Regions from separate parts of the Homo sapiens genome. Here regions 1, 3 and 4 are each linked to region 2. The links are contacts of gene promoters, found by promoter capture Hi-C in human tissues and cell types (Jung and others, 2019). All regions are on one chromosome and are shown on one strand. The core of a region is centred on a gene start or on the middle of the fragment in contact, and the rest is flanking DNA. Distances in the headings are between cores, read along the strand shown.

Region 1 (3,284 bases), core at 752-3,251, 130 kb after region 2:
CCCTGTCGCCTTCCACTCTAGGGGAGCAGGGCCTCTTCTCCCCAGAGGTCAGAATGATACCCTGCAGGGAGCAGATGTTCCTGGAGTACAGTTGTCACTCCCAGCCACCTGCTTTGTTTCCCAGCACTCCCTCAGGCAGCAGCCCCCAAGGGCCATGCTTTCCTTACAGCAGGAGAACCTGGTGGTTGAGGCTCCATATAAGCTTTCTTGTTTGTTGTTGAGATTCCATGCACTTGAGCCTGGCCAACTTGGCAAAAAATAAACCAACTGTTTCCAGGAGAACAGGCTATGATCTCCAAATATCTGACATGTGCCCTTACAAGAGGTACTCCTTTAATAGATCCCCAAGGCCTTTTCATCCTGGGACACAGCCTTCCCAGAACTTCCCTGGTGACAGACAAAGTTAAATGATGAGGATGAGAGAAAATATGTTGCTCCCTTTGTTCTATTCACCGTAATTAGCTGTGTTAGGAAAATTGAGCCTTATCCTGGACATAGAGTTGCAAAATATCCCTGAAAACAAACATGGAATTGGTCTACTACTCATTGCTTTAAACCATTTTGATTGTGTTAGAGTGCAACAAGTAGATGGGGCTATTTATTCGTTTATTCACCAGTTTTGAGTATTCTGTACTGGATGCTGAGGATGGGGAGCGGGCGGAGACAAAGATGACTGATAGGACTGTCTTTGAGGACCCTACTCCATAGGTGGAGAGAGAATCTAGTGCCGTGAAGGCAATGGATCTAGTGAAGGCACAAAGAGAGTCAGAGAAAACTTTTCAGAAGAGGGGACAATTGGGCCCTGAAGAACGAGAAATTTACTGCGTATAAAAGTGGGCTTTATTTTACCTCAAGGACACACTGCAATGGCGTAATCTCCTTCCTGCTGGTCAGAGTTTGTCCTATATTTTCTAAGCCTGAATGTAAATATTTTCTGTTCAGATATCTAAGGGTCAAGAGAGTTGCATATCCTTATTATTATTATAAATCCTTATTAGAATTTATATTATAAATATAAATATAACAATTTTATATACTTATAATTATATAATTATAATTCATATTATAAATATAAATCCTTATTATTATAGATAATTCCTTACTTATTTTGGATATTAACCAAAGTGTGCCCCCTGGATGGAAATTTTAAGCAACTCACCATGACCACAGCTATCTGAGTTGCCCTCAGCACTGGCCCCATTTCCTATGTGCACCCCATTTCACTTCTCAGGTCCCTGCAGTGGCTCCCCCACATCTTCACACTCTTCTCAAATCCACTCATTCTGTACCACTCCCACGAGCTCTCAGCCCCCAGCTTTGCAGAGCAGAGAGAATGCAAACTCGCTTATATGCCTGTCTCTTCTGCATCTGCACATCACCTCCTCCTACAAGCCTTTGACTTTAACCTCTCTGTATCTCTTTCCTCTTTGGCAAGGTGGGCATAATAATACCTTCCCCACAGGATTGTTGGAGGGATCTAATCAAGCAAGCCATGTAAATTGACAAGTGAGGGCCTTGTTTGTTGAGGCCTTCTGTTAATGATGGTTGCCATTATTCTATGCTACCTCCTTCGGGAGCTCACATCAAAAATAGTCCCTTGATCTCTTAGACCTTTAATCTCTCCCTTGGCTCCTTCTTCACTCCCTGAAAAATATTAGTCCTAAAATTGATACTTTCCCTCAGCCATGCTCCTTGGGCCGTTTCTAGGCTTTCTTTACTCACAGAGATCTTGACGACTGTATACACAGTCTCCACAAACTTGCCTTCAGTCAGAGTTCATCAAAGTCTCACTGATTTCCAAAGCAGAGGTCAAGATCTTCTGTGGTCCTTGCCCCCACTTCACTGCATGGCTCCATTTAATGCTAAGGGAAGGGAGCTCTACAGAGGAGGGAGTAGTCAGTGGTGTCATATGTGGTTACTTGATGCATAATCCATTTTGAGTTCATTTTTATATAAGATTTTAGGTTTAAATTAAGGCTGGGTTTTTGGCCTATGAATATCCAACACCAATTGTTGAAAAGACTGTCCTCCCTTCATTGAATTGCTTTTGCACCTTTGTCAAAAATCAGTTGACCATAGTTGTCAAGATCATGCAGTCTTGATTACTATAGCTATGTAATATGTCTTGGAATCAAGTAGACTGATTCCTCTGACTTTATTCTTCTTTGTGGAGTTTGCTTTAGCTGTTCTAGTTCCTTTGCCAGTCCACATACATTTTGACAATAATATGCAAAAGATTTGTGCTGGGATTTTAATAGGAATTGCATTAAACATGTATGTCAATTTGGGGAGAATTGACACCATGTTGAGTCTTCCAATCCATGAACATGGTATGTCTCTCCACTTACTTAGATTGTCTTTGATTTCTTTCATTGGCATTTTGTAGTTTTCAGCATACAAGTCCTATGTGTGTTTTTTCTTTTTTTATATTGACAGATAAAATTGTATGTATTTGTTGTGTGCAACATGATGTTTTGAAGCACATACGCATTGTGGAATGACTAAATCCAGTTAATTAATAGATGAATTACCTCATATAATGAGAGGTTAGAACACTTGATAGCCATACTCAAAGCATTTTTCAAGAATACAATGTTATTATTAACTATAGTCACCATGTTGTACAATAGAGCTCTTAAACTTATTTAACTGAAATTTTGTATCTTTTCACCAACATTTCCCCAACTCCCCTTTACCCCAACTACTCCAGCCACTGATAACCACCATTCTGTTCTCTATTTCTTTTTCTTTTTTTTTTTTTTTTTTTTTTTGAGATGGCGTCTCGCTGTGTCGCCCAGGCTGAAGGGCAGTGGCATGATCTCGGCTTACTGCAACCTCTGCCTCCCCGGTTTAAGCAATTCTCTACCTCAGCCTCCCGAGTAGCTGGGATTACAAGCACCCACCACCACGCCCGGCTAGTTCTTGTATTTTTAGTAGAGACGGGGTTTCACTATCTTGGGCAGGCTGGTCTTGAACTCCTGACCTCATGACTCACCCACCTCGGCCTCCCAAAGTGCTGGGATTACAAGCATGAGCCACCGCACCCAGCCTCTGTTCTCTATTTCTATGGATCAACTTTTTTAGGTTCCACGTAGGAGTGAGAGCATGTGGTATTTGTCTTTCTGTGCTTGGCTTATTTTACTTAACCTGATGTTCTCCAGATTTATCCAAGTTATTACACATGACAGGACCTCCCCCTTTTTTATGGCTGAGCAGTATTCTATTGTGTGTATATACATCTTTTTCATCCATTCATCCATTGATGGGCACTTAGGTTGATTCCA
Region 2 (3,050 bases), core at 444-2,943:
ATTTTACCCCAAAACATTTTTCTTTGCCATATCTTGAAATGGCCCTGCAAATCTGTCTTTTGTGGGGGAAAATTTGCATCTGTAAAGAATCTCTATTACCGGCCGGGCGTGGCGGATCACGCCTGTAATCCCAGCACTTTGGGAGGCCGAGGCAGGTGGATCAGGAGTTCAAGACCAGCCTGGCCAACATGGTGAGACCCCCCCCATCTCTACTAGAAATACAAAATTTAGCCAGGCGTGGTGGCAGGCACCTGTAGTCCCAGCTACTTGGGAGGCTGAGGCAGAGAACTGATTGAATCCGGGAGGTGGAGGTTGCAGTGAGCCGAGATCGCACCACTGCACTCCAGCCTGGGCGACAGAGCAAGACTCCGTCTCAAAAAAAAACAAAAATCTCTATTAACATAGATAGATATTTTTCCCGTTTCCTGCCCCACCCTCTCCCCTCCTCCCGGCTTTGAGTTGTCCTACCTTTCTGGACCAAACCAATGTATTTCTTAAATGTATTTGATTGATGTCTCGTGTCTTTCTAAAATGCTGCGCCCCGACCACTTTGGGCACATGTTCTCAGGACCTCCTGAGGGCTGTGTCACGGGCCATGGTCACAAATATTTGGCTCAGAATAAATCCCTTCAAATATTTTAGAGTGTGACTCTTCGTCAACACCCTCTTCAAACAAACCTAGGGATGGTCTTTCTGCCTGGATGCCTCAGCTGCGACCAGAAAGTCCACAAAGGAGCAGTGAAGCAGGGCTTGGTGCAGAGGCCATGCGGAAGGCACGGATTTTTGGAGACTGGAGAACCCAAGCGCAAATCCCTACCCCACTGCTCACCAGCAGGTTCTTAAGCAAATCACTCTGCTTCGCTGAATTTACTGTCCTCAGCTATAAAATGGTGTCCTCGGCAACTGGAGCTAGATGCCTTCGCCACTTTGCTGAAAGATATGAACTGTGCCCAAGGTGGGCGGTATCAGATAGGAGCCCCGAAGTGGAAACGTCCAGCGTGGGAATCTCCTCTCTACAGGGTCCCCAAGGAACTCCCGGCAGGCCCACTTCAGGGCTCCTTTCTGACACCGCCCAGCTCAACCTCTCAAAACGATTCACAAAATGCTGTAATAGCCACGATGCACCCTCACTGCACTGTCCCATCCGCCCCTTTTACAAATAGGAAGACCCAAAGATAAAAATAAGAAACCAAGGCCAGGCGCGGTGGTTCACGCCTGTAATCCCAATACTTTGGGATGCGGAGGAGGGCGGATCACCTGAGGTCGGGAGTTCGAGACCAGCCTGGCCAACATGGTGAAGCCCTGTCTCTACTAAAAATACAAAAAATTAGCCGGGCGTGGTGAAGGGCGCCTGTAATCCGAGCTACTCGGGAGGCTGAAGCAGGAGAATCGCTTGAACCCAGGAGGCGGATATTGCAGTGAGCCGAGATCATGCCATTGCACTCCAGCCTGGGCGACAGAGTGAGACTCCTTCTCAAAAAAATAGAAAAAAGAAACCCAAAAAGGCGGGGGAGAGTGAGGAAGAAAAGAAAAAAAAAACTGGAAGGCCTGGGCCGTGATTTGCCAGGGCCACGGCGTGGCCACCAAAGCGCTCCAGGACGACTCGGCAGAGCGCGGGCACCGTGGCTCAGGCGCGCTCCCCGGGGGCGGGGCGAGCAGGAGGGGTCACGTGACGCCCGGCCCGGAAGCGCTCGCGCAGGAGACCCCGGGTGACGGGGCCCGGCGCCGCTAACTGGAGCGAACCCCAGCGTCCGCCGACATGGCCTGGACCAAGTACCAGCTGTTCCTGGCCGGGCTCATGCTTGTTACCGGCTCCATCAACACGCTCTCGGCAAAGTGAGTCTGGGCCCTGCCGGGCGTGCGGGCCCTGGCGACCCCGGCGCTCGTTCTACGCCTTCCCCCTTCTTGGCCCTGCCCTCCTGGCTTCCCCTGCTTTCCCACTTGCTCCGGTCAGTTCGCGCGCGTTATGACCACCCAAGGGATGCGAGGCCCGGGGAAATGCGGAGCGGGGCTGCGCCCCGGACGGGGGGATCCGAGCCCCGGCTTTGATTTGCTGTACAGCCTCCGCTCCTGTTTCCACGTCTTTTAACAGGAGGGTTGGCCGATTCCTTTCCACGGCCCTTCCAGTGCTGGCGTCCAAGCCTGAGCACCTCCCTCCACGAGCTGGGAGAGACCCCTGGACTTGTGCACATGAGCCGCAGTAGTGGCTGTGCAGGCCGAGTGACCCAGTGAGCGTGGAGGCCTCAAGCGGCAGACAGGGAGGTGCCCCACGGCCCCTCAAGGATGAGGGGTTAGAGCTGTGCTTTGAAGCTTAGGTGGGATTTCGGAATGTGTCTGAGACTGTAAGTCAAGGAAAGTCTACGGAAAGGCCAGATCAAAGTCGATTGTAACCAGCATCAAATGCCCAGGTTAGATTTTCTCTCATAATCAGAAAAGTGCTTTTGAGCTGGGGAATGACATGTTGAAAGTGATATGATTGACTCAATGACATGAGGAGTGGTTTGGTGCAGGAAAAACCACTCCAAGGCTGCTGCATAGCAGATGAGGGGAACTAGGAGGTGGCAGTGAGAAGAGAAAGGAAGGGACAACTGGTGGCAGAGACCAGGTGTGAATGGCCACAGGCCTGACCCACATGAGCAAGAAACAAGGATCACTCCAGGGTTTCTGCCTGGGAGAAGAAAAGTGCCATTAACTCAGACAGAGAGGGCAAGTGGCCAGTTCAGCTCTGATGTATGGGGGTGAGAGGGGGGACAGTTCCCAGGAGGTTAGGGACTAAGGACCCAGGCAGTCATGAGACTGAGGGACAGGGCCTAGCCTCCCCTCTGTTGTGGGCAGGATGGCATTTCTTTGTCTCTCTCTGTCTCCATCTCAGGGCAGGGCCTTCCTGCCCCTCCTTTTCTTGTTGCCCAGGCTGGAGTGCAATGGCACGATCCCATGTATAAGGTACCTACGGTGTGTAAGGGAAGGGGACAGAAGTGACCAAGAGGCGATCTCTGCCTTTGAGATGCTTGGAATCTGAGGTGGAGGAGACAGACGTGTACGCACACGAC
Region 3 (3,048 bases), core at 193-2,692, 230 kb after region 2:
ATGAAGGCCTCACTATGTTGCCCACACTGGTCTTGAATTCCTGGGCTCAAGCGATATTCCTGCCTCATCTCCCAAAGTGCTGGGATTACAGGTGTGAGCCATCACACCCAGCCAACAGGAGTTTTCTTAACTAGCAGAGACTAACCATACAAGGTTTCCTTGTTAAACCCTTCACCAGGGCCGGGCGCGGTGGTTTAAGCCTGTAATCCCATCACTTTGGGAGGCTGAGGCGGGCAGATCATGAGGTCAGGAGATCGAGACCACAGTGAAACCCCGTCTCTACTAAAAATACAAAAAATTAGCCGGGCGCCGTGGTGGGCGCCTGTAGTCCCAGCTACTCGGGAGGCTGAGGCAGGAGAATGGCGTGAACCTGAGAATGGCGTGAACCTGGGAGGCGGAGCTTGCAGTGGGCCAAGATCACACCTCTGCATTCCAACCTGGGCGACAGAGCGAGACTCCATCCCAAAATAAATAGATAAATAAATAAATAAATAAAAATAAACCCTTCACCTGAGGAACAGAAAAATACCTGGAGGGAAAGTATCTAGTGAAGAAACGGCTCTCACTTTCCAGGGGATCTTCAAGAGAGAAAAGACAAGCCCATTAGCAGAGAAATTAAAGTCAAGTTGTGAAGTAAGCATTTAAAATATTTTTATTCTATTTTGAACTAGTGTAGATATCTGGAGACCAAAGTTGTAAAATACATGATATGTGATCCCTGACTTCAAGGCACTTATCTTTTTGGGAAGATATTTGAAAAAAAAATTAAATGGCAATAGTAGAAATTAGCAGTCCCCAACCTTTTTGGCACCAAGGTTTTGTGGAAGACAGTTTTTCCATGGATGGGGTAGAGGGTGGGGGTTGGTTTCAGAATGAAATTTCCACCTCAGATCATCAGGCATTACTTAGATCAAGCTTGTCCAATCCGCAGCCCATGGGTCGCATGCAGCCCAGGACAGCTTTGAATGTGGCCCAACACAAATTTGTAAACTTTCTTAAAACATGGAGTTTTTTTGTGATTTTTTTTTTTAGCTCATGAGCTGTCCTTTGTGTTAGCGTATGTTATGTGTGGCCCAAGACAATTCTTCTTCCCGTGTGACCCAGGGAAGCCCAAAGATTGGACAGCCCTGAGTTAGATCCTCATACAGAACACGCAGCCTAGATTCCTCAAATGCACAGTTCACAATAGGGTTTGCGCTTCTGTGAGGATCTGGTGCCGCCGCTGATCTGACAGGAGGTGGAGCTCAGGCGGGAATGCTCGCTGTTGCTGTGCAGCCTGGTTCCTAACATTCCACGGACCCGTACTAGTCCACAGCCTGGGGGTTGGGAATCCCTGGTAGAAAGGATAGTTTGGTAATCCCTGGTAGAAAGGATAGTTTGGTAACTTAAATGTTGTGTAGCAGGGTACATATATGCTTAATCCTCAAGTGAATTATGTAAACTCAATATTCACTAAATGTAGAGGAGTAAGGAATTGCTGAAGGCTAGAGAGGTCAACGAAGACAGAATAATAGAATTGTTGCATCTATTAGAAGGGACCTTAAGAAGTCATCTAAACATAAAATCTCAGCTAGTCCAGCCTTCAGTCTGGTTCTTGACCCCGATAGGGCATGCCCACAGGGTGTCATCAGCTTGAAGACCTGCCATGGTGGGACCTCACCCTTTCCTGGGGTAGACATGCTGCCTTTAACCATGTTAAAGCTGTCAGTTAACTGCTTTAACTGAAGCAGTACTGGGAATGTTTGTCTTCAGTGGGTCAACATCTGTTTTTCTGTATCTTCAACACTTTGGTCACAGTTTTACAAACGCTGTGGTCACAGAAAATAAGTGTAATCCCTATTCTTCCTCTGGGCCCTTAAGTCATTAAAGGCAGTTCTCATGTCATGCTGAGTTTTTCTTCTGTCTCTAAGCTAACCCCTTAGTTTCTCCACCAGGTCCTTGGCTGACCGAGATTGGAGCATATCCACTCCACTCACTGTCATGGTCTTTCTCTTTAAACAGGCCTGCTTGTGAATGTTATTCTAAAAGTTTGCTGCACAGAACTGAAGTCAGTATTACAGGTGTCATCTGACAAGCCCAGAGGGGAGGAATATTATCACTTTCCTCATTCTAGAAGAAGGACTTTATAACCAGATATCTAGTTTCAAATCAGTTCTGTTCTCACTGGCTGTGTTACCTTGAGCATGTTACCTAAGCTCTCTGAGCCTCAGTTCAGTTCTGCTAATATCTGAGAACATTCTATGTGCTGGACACCATGCCATACAATAGGGCTGAAAAAAATCCCAGCCCTGGGGAAGCTCCTAGTGACGTGGAAGAAATAGACATACTTCTGTGTTAGAAGTATCTCCACACAGTATTACAGAAGTACCCAGAAGGCTAGGCTAACCCAGCCCAGAGGAACAGGCTGGGAGTCAGGAAAAACTTTCCAGGGGAGTTGACACTGGAGAGAGTACATGCCAGTGTAAAATCCTTATGTCTTTTGCACACAGTTTTGCAAACCTTATATCTTCTGCCAAATATCTTCCATTTGTTTTTTAAGATACAAATGCAGAACCTAGTATGTGTTTATTTGGAGTGGTTTAGCTTCTTCCTATAGCCTGTCACAGCACTTTGGAATCCTGATTCTGTCAGCTAGTGCTCACAGAAATGGTGGGACATGAGCTTGGCCTTGAAAGGAGGAGAGCATTCCAGTACAAGCCAAGGCGGGGAGGGATTCAGTATTAGGGAGACTGGCAGGAGGAAGAACAACAGTCTGACTGAAGTGAGGGGCTTGGGGTTGGAGACATCAGAGAAAGGGTTTGGGGAAGAAGGAAGTGGAATTGATCCTACAGATGTTTGGTCTTGATCCTACAGAATAGAGATATAGAGAGCCATTGGTGCTTAGGGGAAGGGGGTAACTAAAGCAGTGTTTTTGGAAAGTTTGTCTTGCAATGAGTAGCAGGAAAAGTTGAAAGAATAGGGACCAGAGGCAGGAATACTATCCAGTCACAAAATGGCAACAACCTGGACAAGGATGATGTCAGTGAGAATGGAAGGGACAAGATGAAT
Region 4 (3,207 bases), core at 570-3,069, 190 kb before region 2:
GCAGAAGGCTCCACCGTGGAGCTCAGGGCATGCTCAAAGGAACACAAATGCAGGTGCATATAAGGGACACAGACCTAGCTTGCCAAGATGCGCCCACTGAGTGCTAAAGAATGTGAACCTGCCCATGTGTGCAAGTGTGTGAGTGCACACACACCTGCCTGAGCAGTAAGCCCTGAACAGAAGCCAGGCAGAACTCAGGAGGATTGCGGAGGAGAGGGCTTCTATTCTATTGGGATGCAAATATCGTGGCATTCAGAGAAGGTGGAGAAGCAGGGAGCAGAGGAGGAGTATGGCAGAGAGCTTGGGGGCGGAGAGAAGAATCACGAGAACACATCATTTTTCTATGGCTCCTTTCTTCGGAGGAGCCCATCGCCCCTGTAGGCGGGATGCTTCATGCCAGCATGTGCTCTGCTGATCAGAGCCACGCTCCTCTTAAATCAGGACTCCAGGGCATGGTGCCCCCAGAGTTTCTGGAATTCTGCCTCCTCCAGTGAACATTTGTTGAGCACTTGTCATGTGCCAGGTGCCAAGGATAAAGGAGAACACGGATTAGCAGAAGAAGAGACAAGTTCATTCGGGTCTGAGTGTGGACTTGAGGATGATAGTCCTCTCAGTGAGGCAGGTGCTAGGTACAGGGTGTGCAGTCAGGGGAGGTAGCAGAGGGCACTGGATCCTTAGGAGTGGGTGGCAGATCCCCAGATGGGCAACAGGGAAAATGCATCCCAGGGAAAGGAATTCCATGCAAAGGCCCAGAGGCCTGAAGAGCAAGTGGGGCCCCAGAGACTGGGAGTAACGCTGCTGGGGCCCAGGGCACCTACAGTGCAGTGATGGGCGAGAGGAGGGATGGCTCTGGTGCTGTATGGACAGCAGGCTGGAGGGGGTGATGCTCCATTTAGACCAGGGAGGAGATTGGAGATTGTCCAGGCAAGCAATGAGGGAGGCTCGCAGCAGTGGGATGGAGGAGGGCCACAGGCCAGTGGCTAAGGAGGGGCCTAAGCAGGACTTAGGGAGAGGTCAGATGTGGAGGGTGATGGAGGGTGATGGAGAAGCCATCAAGTCCCAGTTTCTGGCTTAGGTGGAGGTTGGAGGGGGCAGGGATATACTGGAGGAAGAGCAGTTTCAGTGGCGCTGAGTCTGTGGCGTGGTGGCCCAGCCTTGTGTGGATCCATTGCCAGGCATGTGGATCCATTGCCAGAATGGTGGAGGCTGGAGACCCAGAGGTAGAGAGGCTGTCATTGACATACGGGACATGTTGGAAGTCTAACACAGATGAGATCTCCCAGAAGGAATGGGTCCCTGAAAAGAGAAGAGGACCCTGGGGCAACACCATCGCCTGGGGAAGGAGCCAGACCCAGGGGCTCCCCCTGCCCTGGGACTTTCCTCAAAGCCTCACCCCAGTGGACACTTGTCATGGAGCTCCTCCAGTACCCACCCTGGGAATGGCCTTCCCTCCTTGTGGTTGATAGCACTAGAACCTTGACCATGGTCCCACTTGGGTTGGAGCTGGTTGTACCCAGGCCAGCTCAGCATGGCGCCTGACACATGCACCCCATGACTCAGTAAACACCGAGTGAGGATTGGGCTTGGGGAAGGCAGGCTGAGCACCGTGGGTCTTTGTGTTCCCAGCACTTAGTATGGTGCCAGCACACAGCAGGTTCCTGATAAATTAATGTTTCATGCCATCTGACTCTGTTTTTAAAAAATGATGTGTGTACAAAGAAGAAAGCCACAAATCACCCGAAATCCAAACACCCTGAATTATCCAGGGTCAACGTTTGGTGCATTTTATTCAGAGTTTCTCTTTATGTGTATATTCAGACGAGATCGGGCGCGCTCAGGGTGGTATGGCTGTAGACCTTATGTGTATATTCAGATAAAGGACTAGATGGAGGAGTGAATGGACGGATGGATGGATGGATATAAAGACAGACAAAAGCAACTTTATAAAAATATAATCATACCATATTTGCTATTTTAAAATGAAAAGCATGAAATTGAATCTTAATAGAACTTAACTGAAGAGAAAGAAACTGAAGTAAAATGGAAGAATAAGTAGATTTGAGATAAGTGTTAATTCATCACAAGAGATATTAGTACAAAAAGATCCCACTATAGGAGAGAGAGAGAGGATAAAAACCATCAAAGGACTAAAGCCATTATGTTGTACTTTTTTCTAACGATGTGTTTCAATTTTAGATGCCATGGGTTGACTCTGATTTAAAGAGATTCTTAGTAAGTGCACCCCCATCTCCCCTCCACCCACCCCCCAATTTTGGTTGCTTAAATTAGTTTTACTTTGACAGGTTTTATAACATTTACATTCCATTCTGTAACTAGCATTCACCTAGTTGCTATTCCTGGTTCTGCACTTCAATAGATTTGAAGCTCACCACCACTCATTCTAACAGAGGCTCTACATTACTGAGTTGGTTTTTTTTTTTTTTTCTCTTGAATCATCTCTTGATTGGCAGGATTTTGTCGCTGAACATGACTTTCAAGAAGAGCTTGTGGGTGCTTTAGTTGCTGAGCCCTTTCATGCTAGGAAAGGGTGGCTTTGTACCCCTGTGACCGCCTGGCTGGTGTGGTATTCTTGGGTTATGCTCTTTTCCCTGCGGAATGCTGTGGGTATCTTCCTTTGCCTTTCATTCTATCACTTCATCTTTTTGCTGGGGTTGGCAGCACCTGGAGATGAGCATCTCTTCCATTCCCTACATTCTGAACCACTTGAGAAAGAAGGTGAAAGAGGAATGTGGCTGTTAGAGAATGGGGTGAACACAGCCTCAGAATGAGACAGGCGCTGGGGCCGGCCTCCTCCCCACGGGCAGAGCCTGTCCATCTAACACCTAAGGCTTGGAGGGGCGGAGCAGGCTTCCTTGCTTCCGAGGAGGAGAAGGAGGGAGGGGAGAGGTGGGCCACAGGCTGCCCGATGGTTCCAGTGTGGGAGGAACCTCCCCTCCACGTGGGAGGAGCCCTCAGGATAGAGGAGGCAGCATCTCCCCATCACTTGTCTTTGACATCTTAATTTATTGAATCTATATCTTGATTAAGCTTCATCTACAGCACGAAGTGCTCTCAGGAACTTGCTTACACGTCACAGGTTAGGTTTTTTCCCAAACAAGTTTCTTCATCAGTGCGAATGTTGCAGCGGGACAGTGTGAGCCGAGGACATTGGATTTGGCAACAGCAGGACCTGATATGACCTTAATT

Evidence for each region. The method cuts DNA at HindIII sites, captures the fragments that hold promoters and counts their contacts. A contact is called where the count stands out against the background at its distance.
Region 1: a contact is called between a fragment that was not itself captured here and the fragment with the promoter of SLC35F6 in region 2, in 3 of the 25 tissues and cell types used here (liver, mesendoderm cells and thymus).
Region 3: a contact is called between a fragment that was not itself captured here and the fragment with the promoter of SLC35F6 in region 2, in 2 of the 25 tissues and cell types used here (heart right ventricle and mesendoderm cells).
Region 4: a fragment that was not itself captured here is called in contact with the fragment with the promoter of SLC35F6 in region 2 in 2 of the 25 tissues and cell types used here (liver and neural progenitor cells).

What each region holds. Positions count from the first base shown.
Region 1 is chr2:26,893,028-26,896,311 of GRCh38, forward strand. All of the region lies in intron 1 of DPYSL5 (dihydropyrimidinase like 5), which reads left to right. Among named protein-coding and RNA genes, the nearest start is that of DPYSL5, 47 kb to the left of the region's middle. The HindIII fragment of the contact is 5,689 bases long and covers 1-3,284 here.
Region 2 is chr2:26,762,591-26,765,640 of GRCh38, forward strand. It overlaps SLC35F6 (solute carrier family 35 member F6), which reads left to right and starts at 1,694. Exons shown (of 6, transcript NM_017877.4): 1 at 1,694-1,836. The coding sequence starts at 1,760. RefSeq lists an enhancer at 1,351-1,550 and a silencer at 1,561-1,870. The HindIII fragment of the contact is 8,469 bases long and covers 1-2,878 here.
Region 3 is chr2:26,996,343-26,999,390 of GRCh38, forward strand. All of the region lies in intron 1 of MAPRE3 (microtubule associated protein RP/EB family member 3), which reads left to right. MAPRE3-AS1 (MAPRE3 antisense RNA 1) reads right to left here. Exons shown (of 6, transcript NR_149018.1): 2 at 530-578. Among named protein-coding and RNA genes, the nearest start is that of MAPRE3-AS1, 17 kb to the right of the region's middle. The HindIII fragment of the contact is 9,878 bases long and covers 1-3,048 here.
Region 4 is chr2:26,569,920-26,573,126 of GRCh38, forward strand. The region is part of intron 1 of CIMIP2C (ciliary microtubule inner protein 2C); the gene reads left to right. Among named protein-coding and RNA genes, the nearest start is that of CIMIP2C, 8.9 kb to the left of the region's middle. The HindIII fragment of the contact is 4,458 bases long and covers 1-3,207 here.